Linked DNA regions of Homo sapiens: all the other regions are linked to region 2. Evidence: promoter capture Hi-C in 16 types of primary human blood cells and fetal thymus (Javierre and others, 2016). All regions are on one chromosome and are shown on one strand. Each heading gives the region's core, a stretch centred on a gene start or on the middle of the fragment in contact. The rest is flanking DNA. Distances are from core to core; before and after follow the strand shown.

Region 1 (3,412 bases), core at 16-2,515, 1.1 Mb before region 2:
TAAAAGTATGTAAAGCATCAGCACACAGGGATGGCACGGAGCAACTTCTAGTCCATCTCCTTCCCCCCCACAAAACCATTTCTTGCCATTCAGATCATTCTAGAAATGCCTCAAACAGGAAGGGCAGTTAGCTGCTGGTGGCTGAGGTGTTTCTAACGGGACCTGGATTTCCTGACTGGGTGCCTCGTTTGGCTGCCACCTGACTTAATCCCGTCGGAGCTTCTCTCCAGAACTCTGTTCCTGTGCTTAGAGGGGGCAGCTCCGCCAACTCGCCAGAGCGCAGGGGGGACCGCGGCCCCCAGCACTGTCCTCTCATTCTACATCTCCTCCTCCCGGACAACCTGGCCTCGGCCTGTAAGTCCAGAAGCGAGGCCGACCCCACAGCTCCTCCCCCTGCCCGCTGGCAACGCAGAGCTGGCACACACCCTCCGGCTTCCGAGGAGCCTGGCTGCTGCCGGGACCTTCTGCTTCTACTGCAGGAGCCGCCTGGCTGGGCCGCTCCTGGGCTCCCTCGGGTCCTGCTTCCGGTTGTCCTGGGCTGCTTTTTGGATTGGATTGTTTGGCAGCCCCGTTCTTTTTGTCTTGGTTCTTCATTGTGATGAGCGATGCTGGGTCAGGAGAAGATCCTTTAGAAACAAACACAGTTGCTATTTTCCAGACTTCGAAATTCTTCGCAGCCTGGATCAGAAATCCCCACAGCAGGCGCACAAAGCTTCTTAAAATAAACGGACCGGCAGGCCCGGGCGGAGGGCGCCAACGGCTCTCTGGTCTTGGCGGGTCAGGAGAGCCCGACGTGCCGGGGCAGGCTTTCGGGGCGCAGCTCCCACAGCGGGTGAGGGAAGAGGCCTCTTCTCCCTGGAGCCACTTCCCGGCACAACCGGCCCCCTCGCGGCAGGCCGGGCGCGGGATTGGCTCAGGGCCGGAGACTGACGTGGCGGGACTCCCGGCACCGCCCCCGCCCCTCAGGCCCCACGTGCGCCCCCCGCGCGCGCAGCCACCCACGCCCCGCGCGCCCTCAAGCCGCGAGGCACGCCCGCGCATGCGCATATCCCCAGACAGCCCCCGGCCCACGCGGGGAGTTGGCGTGATTTCCCCACAGGCCGAGAACATCCCGGCCCGCACACTCTCAAATAGTCTCGCCCACCGGCCGCCGCTGCACGTACCTCACCGCCGACGTCCGATGGCTTCCCCACCTCTGGCCTCGCACCGGAAACCCCGAGTAACTGCTGCCGGCCAGCCGCCTGCTCCCGCCTCAGCCAATCAATAGCCGGCGCCGGCGCGGAGCTTGCTGGGAAGGACGAAGCGAGGGCGGCCTCGGAGGCGGGCGCCCCGGCAGGGCGGGGCAGGGAAAAGACTACGCGTCCCTCTTTACGCAGGGGCTAGCCGCAGATCCCAAGGTGCATAAGGGACTGTAGTCCTGGGAGTCCAAAAGGAGCCCGTCATTCTGCACGAGTGCCCATGTCAACCTTGTTTCTATCTCGCAGAAGCTATGCTTCAACTCCCAAAGCCTTGCGCCTGGCTGTTGTTTCCTGCAGGCCTCCATCAAACCTTCCTCCCTGGCCGTGAACAAATGTGACTCCATCCGGGAACTCCGAGGACTCGGGAAGAGGGATAGAGTCCTGGGCTGAGACTCAGGAGACCCATACTCCAGTCCCAACTTCATCACGGATTTGCTGTGTGGCTGGACGTTCTGTTCTCTCTCTGGGCCTCAATGTCCTTCTTCCAAAGGAGGCTTTTAATAACAATAGCAGTTCCTTGAACGCTTACTGTGTGCTTTCCCGCTATCTAATAGCTTGGTTCTCATAACCACTCATAGAAATAACTACTATCTGTTATCCCCATTTTACGGAAAAGGACAGTAAGAGAAAGGTTAGGTAACTTATCCAAGGTCATATCGATAGTGAGTGGTTAAAACAGGGATTCAAAACTGGTAAGTCTGAGACCAGCACCCAGGTAATTACCTGGTCTTTCACCCAGAAGAAACACTACCACAGCAGGTTTCCCTGAGGCAGTCAAGGTAACTTGTGAAAGTAGGTCATATTTTCCCCTCTCCATTACCATTTTGGCAGTCAGTTCCTCAGAAAGGTGCTGAGTTAGGCTTCAGGCATATTCATGAGCCTTTTCTCTACCCCACACTCTACAAAGTCTCACTGGGGTTAAAGTAGAAAAAACCCCCACAGTTCCCTACACATGAGATCACAATTCTGTATCCCCATTGCTTCTGGATAATGAAATCAAACCCAACAATCCTTGTGCCTGGAATTTGAAGCCTAAGAGATTTGACTTTTGCCAAACCCAAAATTTTTTGAGGCCCAGTTCAAAGGTCACTTCAGAGCCTTCCCAGTGCTCTGCAAACCGTACTTGCTCCCTAGGTCTGCAGAGTTGTTACAGCATTAGCAGTGAGGTGTTGAAATTACTATTTACTTATAAGTCAGTTAATTTTGCAAGAACTGTTGGCTAAATAGTCTAGTCCCAGAGCCTCGCATCAGGCTGTGGGTAGAGAAGATTGTAAACTGTTGTGCTAATTGAGCGTTGGTTTAGGGCTGTTAGGATGTTAAATATTTCCCCCAAAGGCTCAGTGAAAGACTTCAGAGCCGTGCATGTTGGATTTCAGATTTTCAGATTGGGGAAGCTCAACCGGTAAAATTTGAGAAAATCCCAAATTGGAAACACTTCTGGTCCCAAGCATGTTGGATAAGAGATATTCAATTTTTAGTATAATGATGGAACTGAGGCTCAGAAAGGTTGGAATCTAGATGTCCTGAAACCAAGGCCCTGATTATTTCTAGAAAAGCATTCTGGAAATCTCTTGAGAAGGCACCATATAAATCAGGCCTTGATAGATTTCCATATAACAAGGGTGTTCTAGGTGAGATAAAGAACATAAAAATGTATGCATGGGGTGAGGGATAGAGGATGTAGTAGAAGGGTCAACAATAGCCTAGAGGGGCCAGTTGGGTAATGAGAACAGGCAAGAATAATTGACAGAAACATAGGTTAACAAGTTACTTTCTCCTTTGCTATAAACAATATATAGCAACAATATTAGCACCTGCCAGAGTGAGGGAGAGGTGGTGATTGCAGTAAAATACAGCAGCTCTTGCACATTGTTAGCAAGCAGAAACTCAGGCCGGGTAGGGCCAGATTGTATTTTTGTTTTTTAGACAGGTTTTACTCAGCTGCTGGGGCTGGAGTGCAGTGATCATAATAGCTCACTGCAGACTCGACCACCTGGACTCAAGTGATCCCCTTGCCCCAGCCTCCCAAGTAGCTAGGATTACAGGTATGTGCCACCACAGCCAGCTAACTTTTAAATTTTTTTGTAGAGACAGATCTCACTTTGCTGCCCAGGCTGGTCTTGAACTCCTGGCCTCAAGTGATCCTCCTACCTTGGCCTCCCAAAGGGTTGGGA
Region 2 (3,261 bases), core at 620-3,119:
TCTCCTAGGCTGGAATGTAGTGGCCCAATCATAGCTCATTGCAGCTCAATTCCTGGGCTCAAGGGAATTCTCCTGCTTTAGCTCCCAAGTAGCTAGGACTACAGATGTGTGCCACCATGCCCAGATAATTTTTAACTTTTTGTAGAGACGAGGCCTCACTATGTTGCCCAGCCTGGTCTCAAACTGCTGGCCTCAACCAATTCTACCACCTCTGCCTCCCAAAGTGCTGGGATTACAGGTGTGAGCCACCCCACCAGGACCCTGATGGGAGAAATTTTGCATTTATCATGATGATCAACCATTTCCTTATCATGTGTATTGCAAATATATATATATGTATATATACGTATATATATGTTTATATATGTATATATGTGTATATATGTATATATGTATATATGTGTATATATGTATATATGTGTATATATATGTATATATGTATATATACATATATGTGTATATATATATATTTTTTTTCTTGAGACGGAGTCTTGCTCTGTCATCAGGCTGGAGTGCAGTGGCACAATATTGGCTCACTGCAACCTCTGCCTCCTGGGTTCAAGTGATTCTCCTGCCTCAGCCTCCCCAGTAGCTGGGACCACAGGCGCCCGCCACCACTCCCGGCTAATTTTTTTGTATTTTTAGTAGAGACGGGGTTTCACCATGTTGGCCAGGATGGTCTTGATCTCTTGACCTCATGATCCACCCGCCTCGGCCTCCCAAAGTGCTGGGATTACAGGCATGAGCCATCGCGCCTGGCCGTGTACTGCAAATATTTTTTATCCATTTGTTCTACTTTGTTGATGGCATCTCTTCTCGTACAGATGTTTATATTTCTTTCAATATTTTCTTTTATGATCTTTTGACTTTGATTCATGAGTATAAACATTTTCCCTCCTCCAATTATAGAGCTTCTCCCCATATCTTCTTCTGGTCTTTTACAGTATTGCGATTTGTCTGTTTTCAATCTATTTTTTTTTTTTTTTTGAGACGGAGCCTCTCCGTGTCGCCCAGGCTCAAGTGCAGTGGCGCGATCTCTGCTCACTGCAAGCTCCGCCTCCCAGGTTCAGGCCATTCTCCTGCCTCAGCCTCCCGAGTAGCTGGGACTACAGGTGCCCGCCACCACGCCCGGCTAATTTTTTTGTATTTTTAGTAGAGACAGGGTTTCACCATGTTAGCCAGGATGGTCTCGATCTCCTGACCTCATGATCCGCCCGCCTCAGCCTCCCAAAGTCCAGGGATTACAGGCGTGAGCCACCGCGCCCGGCCTTCAATCTATTTTGAGTTTAGTTTGAGACAGTAAGACTAAAAGCACTTAACATACATTATTCCACTTAATCCTCCAGGCCATTCTGTTAAGTGGGGGTTATTTTCTTCTTCATTGTACAAATGTGGAAATGGAGGCAGGTCGATTTAAATAAGGCCGCAGAGCTAGAAAGCTGCAGAGAAGGGGTTTGAACCCTGCACCTCTGGGGCCAGGGCAGTGCGGGTGGCCGTCCGCGAACCCTGCTAGCTGTGGTGCTCGGGGGCAAGCTTCCGAGGGCGCGGCGGGCGCGAGGAGCGCGTCCGAGACTCGGTGGAGCGTCACCGGCGCAACCCCGCGTGCCCAGCTCCAGGCCGTGTTCTCCCAGGTGCGGGCCGGCGGGACCCCGCCTTCGGCCCTGGCGGCGCGCGCTCGCCTAGCGGGCGGGCACTCGCGCGCAGCGTTTGTGTTGCCTGCGAGTTTCCCGAGTTCACACAGGCCCTGGGTTGGCATGGCAACCAGGCAACCTGTTCCAGAGCCGCCAGCCTTCTCCGCACATGCCGCTGCCACCGCCGGGGCCGGGGCCGGAGCCTATCCCAGGATGCACCGCGCCAACCCAGTCCCCAGTGGGCCGCCATGTTGTCGGAGTGAAAGGTAAGGGGGAGCGAGAGCGCCAGAGAGAGAAGATCGGGGGGCTGAAATCCATCTTCATCCTACCGCTCCGCCCGTGAGTATCCGCACCCCACCGGCCCCAAACGCTGCTCCGGACCCCTAACGAGCAGATTGTCCCTTCATATTGGTGTTTGAGAGTGGTTGTGGGGGTGAGAAGGGCTTTGGAAAAGCCGCCGGGGCCCTGGCTGAGGCTTCTCACTCGCTGTTCCTCGTACATGTTTTGGAGTCAGCAGCAAGGCCCCTATTGTTATCAAAGGAGGGAGGGGGTGGGGAGCGGGGTCGAAGCTAGGAAAATGCTGGGGGTTTAGGCCCGAGCCCAGGGCGTAGACGTGCCTCTACATTTTTGCCTGGCCCTGTTGGGAACCACCGAAGATTGATGTTGCCATTCGGGTTGCTTTTTTTGATGGGTTTGCGAAGCCCCGAGTCTTCTGTGTGGCCATGAAGTGTAATTCTGTGCCACCCCGATTTCTTCGACTTCTTGAGCTTCCGTGGCAGCGCCGGAGGAGGAGGAACAATAAATCGCTTTAGAAGCAGCCGTGGCCCTTGTCCACAGGCGAGATTCACCGTGGGGGAACTTTGCGAGCCTTAAATGTGGAGAAGTGGCGATCAGGAAGTTTCAGAATGCTTTTTAGGCTCCTGGGTTGCTGTGGCCTTTTGTTTCCGTGTGAGCTTGTGTTTTTGGTGGGTTCTTCCTTTTTGAGCCTCCCGGTGTTGGTGTCTCTCTTCACTCAAAGAGGGGTTCACCCCTTGCTAGTAGGAAAATCTAGATACACAATACTAGTTTTAGTCCTCACAAACATGCTTGGTAAACATAGATCATTTGTTTTACTTGTCAGTACCATTCCCACGTCAAGTGAGGAATACACTCCTGTAACTTTTCCCTCCTATAGCCCCCCCCCCCCCCCCCGCTGAAAAAACAAAGCCAGAAACCCACACACAGCATTACCAGAGAAGGCTTTATTCTCCCGTAACTTAGATTGTTACCTTTTATTGTTCAATTAAGAAAACACTGTTCTCAGCCCTCGATACCATTTTGCTCAATTCCTGTTATTACTGGGATTAATTAAGAATAAGATTTTATGAAGCTTTTCCTGGGTTCTGTTTTAAAGTCAGTTAACTTCTGAAACAATAGGCTTAGCATTTTGTTTCTTGAAAGCACCTAAAAACTTACTAAGACAGGCCCAACCCCAAGAAATGTGGCTTCCGATGCAGTTTTCGTAAGCAAAATAAACATTTTGACCCTTTGCTAATTTTAACTTTATAAAACACTGGGGGGCTGTTGATTCTTTATCTGGGCTCTTGGGAAACGCTCTCCGGATTCTGAACTTTGAGTTAGTGTTTTGCTT
Region 3 (3,104 bases), core at 371-2,870, 1.3 Mb before region 2:
GCTGGCTGCAGCAGAGCTACAAATAAATATAAAATAAATAAAATTAAATAAAATTAAATAAATAAAAGAAAGTTATTTCAAAGGATTGTCTGAGAGGCAAAAACCTAACTGCAGTGAGTTCAAGAGAGAATGGGAGGAGAGGGGAGTTGCAGACTGTGAGTAGGCAACGCTTTTGCTGTAAAGGGGAGTAGGGAAACGGTGAGGGATATAGAGAGGGCTGGTTTTTGTTTGCCTTTGAGATGGGAGAAACAGCAGTACGGATGATGACAAGGATAAATGCAGTCATCAGAGGGAAAAGAGATGAAGGGGGGATTACTAGATCTATGTCCTTAAGCAAACAAGAGGCGATGGGATCTACCGCACACGTGGAGGGGCTGACCTTAATTAAAGTCCAAAGTATGTGGGCTGTGGAATCTCCCTTCCAATCGCAGTAGAACTCAATCCAGGCGGTCTCCGGATTTCTCCAGACCACCTCCACCTGGCGTTGTTCTGAGCTGGGCCACCGAAAGTTGAGATTACTGAATGTGTGTGTCTCCCATTAACCCGTAAGCCCTCCAAAGGCTGCATCTAAGTCGCCTCTGAATTATTCACATTCCTCCAAACTCTGGGCCACAGCCCCGCAATATGGGCTTATTGAATTAGCCCAAAGAGACACAAAGCAGCCTCTACGCAGCTGGTTTCACAAAGGGGGGCGGTCCTAACCCTGCGCTCTGGGATCCTGACGTTCGAGCTATCTCTCCTCCTCCCCTCTGCTCCCAGCTCTCCGCAGTCCAGCTTGTCGGCTGATCATCGTCCATAGAGGCCACCGTACCCGACGTTTGCGGACAGTGACAAAGAGTCAAGCTTGGTGGAGCCTGAGGACAGGACTGAATGACGATTGAACTGAGAGTTCAGGGGCGGAGTTTGAGGGCGAACTCGGGACAGAGACTGGATAGAGTTCAGGGAGGCGGGACCTAATGATGGCGCAGGGAGGGGATTGGGCTGAGGGCGGTGCCGGCGCGAGGATTGGGCCGAGCGCCTCGGGGGCGGTCCTTGAGGGGGCGGTGCCGTGTCGGAAGTCAAAGGTCAGTAAATAGTGGTGATGTCATGCAGGCAAGATGGCGGAAGGGTGAGCTTGTCGTTTTGCTCCTAGGCGTTGGGGCCTGAATTCTCCCAGGGTTGGGGTGCTGGGCGAGAGTCCCGGTGGGGAACGTGAGATCAGCGGGGGCGTGGACTGATCTGAAAGGGCAGAGTGGAGTCGCATTGTGAGGGGGTGGGCAAGCGGTCTGCGAAGCCTCGGCCCGCAGGGTACATCTGAGCGGGGAACAAACCGGATCCTTGGGCGGGCAGGAATCGCACCGCGGTGCTGCCAGATGTGTCTGTCTTCCACAGGGAGGACGTGGGATGGTGGCGGAGCTGGCTGCAGCAGAGCTACCAAGCAGTCAAAGAGAAGGTAAGCCGGGCCCGTGCCCTTCTTCCCTCAGCAGGGCCCTGCGCCGCCTCAATGCAACCTGGTCCAACCAGCCCCGCCCAACTTTTGCGGGCGCTAAGTCTCAAGGATGAGGCTGACCTGGGCCTTTCTTTTAGCCTCTACCGGTCCACGGGAAGACAGACCTCGACGCAAACCAGTGTGATACTAGCCACAGTGAAATAAAGATGGTTTTAAAGGCTGGAGTTAACGAACGTTTTGTAGGAATCCATAGGAAGGAGCAATTTATTCCAGCTCAGGAAATTCAGTTTCTTCGTGAAAGAGAGAGCATTTGATACAGGTCTTGAAGGAAAAGATTCTAGCAGTAAAAAAACTTACTCGTATAGTCATTCAAATATTAGAGTATATGCGACAACCAGCACTCTGATAGGTCTTGAGGATACAGACTTCAGCCAAACAGATGTAATCCTGGGCCTTACAAAGCTCACAGTCTAGTGGAGAGACAGCCATTAACCGAGTAGCCAAACAAATAGTTGTTTAGTTACCGTTGTGGTAAGTTCTGTGAAAGGAAAGTACAGGGGCACCTTGTCTGTTCTGGTTAGTCAGTAACTCACCAGGGAAGGCCCCTGTGGAGAAGGAACCTCATCAAGGGCAACCCTGCCTAGACAGGATGAAAAGCAAGAACCCAAGCCAGAGATGAGCATGAGCCATACACACTGGTGCCTGATGAGTTCTAAGTAGGGGCTATGCAACGGGCAGTAGAGAGAGAGAGATTAATCACCAGAGAGTGGAAGGCCTTCTTGCTGAACAATCTCTGTGGGATGAGTGATATTTGGCTGTGCCAGTGGGTAATTTGCCAATGTGTATTCCTGTTTCATTTCATGCTTATTTGTCAAAATCAGCCCAACTGAATTGTGGGAAAAGTTGATTACTATTTACCTCAAGCAATTGGGATGAGTCCTGCTTCAGGGCCAACTCCAGGAAGCTTCTGACCTCACCTAAATAAGTCCTCTACTCTGGGAGTATTTTTGTTTTGTTTTGAGACAGAGTCTCACTCTGTCACCTAGGCTGGAGTGCACAGGTGCGGTCTCAGCTCGCTGCAACCTCTGCCTCCCAGATTGAAGTGATTCTTGTGCCTCAGCCTCCCGAGTAGCTGGGATTACAGGCATGTGCCACTACTCCTGGCTAATTTTTGTATTTTTAGTAGAGACAGGGTTTCACCATGTTGGCCAGACTGGTCTCGAACTCCTCACCTCAGGTGAGCCACCTGCCTCAGCTTCCCAAAGTGCTGGGATTATAGGCGTGAGCCACCACACCCAGACATCTGGGAGCGTTTTTATTCCTCCCTTATCCTGGGTACTCCTGGACAGCCTCTCAGCAATAGCCCAGCAAATCTGAGAATGCCCTGAGCTGTTTATGTTGTTGATGAGGACTGAGAGGCTTGCACCCTAACATTTGATAGAAGAGACCCGATAGTAGCATATTTCCTGTTGGGTAATTTCCTGGCAGGAAAGTCTGACATTCATTCAGCAGATGTTGCATGAGGGCCTCCTGTGTTTGTCTCAAGGTTGGTCTTATCATAACTTATGAAAAATAGATAGTTGGCCAACCTTCCGTCTTCATTCTTGGAATTCCCAGTTAAAAGCTGGGGTGGGGGTGGAGGTGGGAGTTGTTTATGCCTTTTTGGAAAGAAAAG
Region 4 (3,166 bases), core at 247-2,746, 1.8 Mb after region 2:
CTGGTGTTATGGAGATAAACCAAACATGGCTCCAGTCTTGCCTGGAGGGGAATAAATAAGAGACGATGTACTAAAGGCCATAACACAGCTCCAGGGAAAACACAAAGGCAGCAGCAGATGACCTAGGGAGTTTTGAAACATCAAAGAAATGACATCTGAACCTGGAGTTTCCGAGGCAGGGAACAGCATTTCAGGCAGAAGGAGTGGCCTGAATAAAGGCACAAGACACACTGGGGAAGACGGGTATCAGATGCAGCTGGATCACAGGCTATGCACGGTCCAACAGGAGAAGATGAAGCTGGAAATGCAGTGTGGGAGTCAGAGTGCAAAGAATCTTGAATGCAAGTCCAGGAAATTGGACTTGAACCCCTCAGTCAGTAGTTCTCAAACTATGCCCCTGCAAGAACCCAGATGGCCTAGACTAAAAGTGAGGGCTATTGGGATGCACAGGAGGCTAAAGTCCAGCCCCAAGGAGGAGGACTTGCTGGATGATTCTTCAGGCTTCCTGACTGGGCTCCCCAGAAATTCAGAGGAGCCAATTTGGTGAAGAAGAGAATGTCGACATCTCAATGTCACCTAGGGAGTCTTACAACAGAAGGTTACGTTGTACTTCCCAGTTCAAGTAAGCCTATGTGTCACTGGGGAAAAGGGTAAGCAGGACTGGTCATCGTGTGTGTGCTGGCACATAAATGTGGGGCCAAGCCTTTCCCCCACCATGGGACACCAACTTTCTCTAATAATAAAAACAAGTACAGACATTTAGTGAGCACATACTATAAGCCAGACCCTAGTCTGAGGGTTTTATGTGTGATATTTCTCATTTAATCACAATAACCCCCGATAATATTTATCAAATGCTTCCATGTGCCAAGCATTGTACTAAATGCTTCAAGTGGATAATATCTCACTTGACCCTCACAACAATCTTGAAACAGATAACTAGTATTCCTTCCATTTTAAGAGTAAGAAAGTGAAGACACAGAGAGGCCTGGTGACTTGTCCGAAATCAAATGGCTGGAAAATGGCAGAGCTAGGACATAAAGCCAGGTTTGTCCAAATCTAGCTCACAGTACTTTGCTGTGCTCTCTTCCTCAGAGGAAAGGCTTGGAGATGGCAAGCTTCAAGTCAATAAAATCCAGGAAAGGAACTCTTCCTTATCCTTCAAAGCCCTGGCTCAGTATCTTAAAACCTGTTTCCTGGGACACCTGCATCAGAATATTCTTGGGAGCTTGTAAGGATGTAGATTCCTGGAACCCCCATCCGCAAGATTCTAATTCAGTAGGTCTAAGATGGGACCTCGGATTATTTTTATGCACACAGAAGATTTTGAATCACAGGGCTGGCTCTAACAGCACCTCCTCCAAGAGCCCCCACCCCATCCCACCCCATCCCAGAGCACTTCTCTTCAGACTACAGCATTGCACTCTGGCACGAGCCACAGCTCGATCTGGGGTTTTAGTAATGTTCATGTCTTCCCTACACCAAAAATCAGACTAGATCCTTCATAGGGCTACACCTTTTTACAGGCATTTCCAGTGTTCCACTTAATCCCTTTCTACACTGTGAGCATTTTGAGAGAGGACCCTTCTCCTTGTGATTCCTGTCTTACATCTGAACAGAGTTTTTTACAATGCGTTCTCCCACCCACAATAGCATTCCTCTATTATTTCATCCAATCCTCACAACAATCCGGAAGGAGGCATATTATCCCCATTGTACCGATGAGAAAAATTCAGAGTTTCACCTGCCCAAGGTGGCCAAGCTAGGAAGTGGCAGGGCTAGGATTTGAACCTAAGTTTTCTAACTCCAAGCCCCATACTCCTGCCTCCACAGCAGCTTTCGTGTACTCTCCTCAGTGTAGGGAAGTAAGCTTTGCCTCCCTATGCCGTTACATGGTAGTGGTGATTAAATGAGATAATACCTTAAAGAGCCTGGCTCGGTGAGCACTCAATATATTATGTGAAGGGTAAACTGAGGCCAGGGAGAGTAAATATTTCCTCCAAATCAAACACCAAACTGCAGGCTGTAGACACGACTTTGGACTAGCCCCAGACTCTCCTTGTTGAGACAACAGCTTTGGCGGCCTCGCAAGCTCCGCACCCCCGGATCCCTCCGGGGCCCACACGCAGTCTAGCCAGGCGCCACCACTTGGGCAGCGAAGGAAGGAAACGCCCTTCAAAGGGACCAAGGGGGAGTGGTCACCCGGCGGGGCAGGGGCGGGGCGCAGGCGCGCGGTCGCTGGAAGATGACGTAGCCGGGGCGTCAGGCTCTGTGTTGGTTGGAGCGAGCATGTGGGTCTGCAGTACCCTGTGGCGGGTGCGAACCCCCGCCCGGCAGTGGCGGGGGCTGCTCCCAGCTTCTGGCTGTCACGGACCTGCCGCCTCCTCCTACTCCGCATCCGCCGAGCCTGCCCGGGTCCGGGCGCTTGTCTATGGGCACCACGGGGATCCAGCCAAGGTCGTCGAGTAAGAGACGGCGCCGAAGCCGGGGAAGGGGACTGGGGTTTCTGGAAGGCTTTAACACGAGCTGCGGACTGGGAAGAGAGGGACAGGGTCCGAGGAAGGGGGCAGAGAATAGCAAACCGAAGCCGAAGCCCAGGGCGTTTTTGGTAGGTCAGAAAGACCGTACTTGAAGGTAGCTGAAGACCCGAGAGGCAATTATCAGGGTATTAATGGCTGATGTTTATTGATCGAATATTGTGTCAGGCAATCCCTTGTTTAAATGGATGCTCTCATTTAATTGTCACAACAATGTTTTGGGGTAGTTATTGATTTATCCCCATTTTGCAGATGAAAACTGAGGCAGAAGAGGTAAAATCACTCGTCCAAGGTCACACAGCCAGTAAGTGACAGGGTCAGAATTCCAACCTATGTCTGACTGACCTGCGTGAGTTCTTACTATTATTATTATTATTTGGAAGAAGTTTTCAGAATACTTTTACATCCATTTGGATCTTCATGTGTCAGTAAAGAGTAGGTCATAGATCATTGTTTCCAGAGGGCAAGGGACTTGCCCAGAGTGATACCGCTAATAAGTGATTGGAACAGGAGACTGGAATCCATGGCTTCTGATTCCAAACTCATGTTTCTCTCCACTGCACCGTATATGCATCTTGGCTTGGTTAAAAAGAGCTGCTTTGGTGCCATACAGACCCAAGTATCTATAT

The links. Contacts are between HindIII fragments. The CHiCAGO score rates a contact against its expected background, and 5 or more counts as called.
Region 1: the fragment with the promoter of TXLNA here is called in contact with the fragment with the promoter of PUM1 in region 2 in 1 of 17 cell types (total B cells); the score reaches 5.8 in total B cells.
Region 3: a fragment that was not itself captured here is called in contact with the fragment with the promoter of PUM1 in region 2 in 1 of 17 cell types (fetal thymus); the score reaches 6.0 in fetal thymus.
Region 4: a contact is called between a fragment that was not itself captured here and the fragment with the promoter of PUM1 in region 2, in 2 of 17 cell types (total B cells and total CD4 T cells). The highest score is 6.5, in total B cells.

What each region holds. Positions count from the first base shown.
Region 1 is chr1:32,177,528-32,180,939 of GRCh38, reverse strand. It overlaps TXLNA (taxilin alpha), which reads right to left and starts at 1,265. Exons shown (of 11, transcript NM_175852.4): 1 at 1,164-1,265; 2 at 426-626. The coding sequence starts at 594. RefSeq lists enhancers at 262-311, 322-481, 602-681, 569-1,327, 1,328-2,087 and silencers at 882-1,061, 1,202-1,391. The HindIII fragment of the contact is 3,390 bases long and covers 715-3,412 here.
Region 2 is chr1:31,064,325-31,067,585 of GRCh38, reverse strand. It overlaps PUM1 (pumilio RNA binding family member 1), which reads left to right and starts at 1,869. Exons shown (of 22, transcript NM_001020658.2): 1 at 1,869-1,970. RefSeq lists a silencer at 1,563-1,782 and enhancers at 1,111-2,025, 1,893-2,212. The HindIII fragment of the contact is 1,467 bases long and covers 1,536-3,002 here.
Region 3 is chr1:32,392,408-32,395,511 of GRCh38, reverse strand. It overlaps BSDC1 (BSD domain containing 1), which reads left to right and starts at 1,071. Exons shown (of 11, transcript NM_018045.8): 1 at 1,071-1,108; 2 at 1,372-1,432. The coding sequence starts at 1,098. RefSeq lists enhancers at 686-765, 637-1,332, 1,056-1,345, 1,333-2,030. The HindIII fragment of the contact is 1,550 bases long and covers 846-2,395 here.
Region 4 is chr1:29,230,030-29,233,195 of GRCh38, reverse strand. It overlaps MECR (mitochondrial trans-2-enoyl-CoA reductase), which reads left to right and starts at 2,262. Exons shown (of 10, transcript NM_016011.5): 1 at 2,262-2,465. The coding sequence starts at 2,290. RefSeq lists enhancers at 2,251-2,360, 1,885-2,385, 2,386-2,886. The HindIII fragment of the contact is 752 bases long and covers 1,121-1,872 here.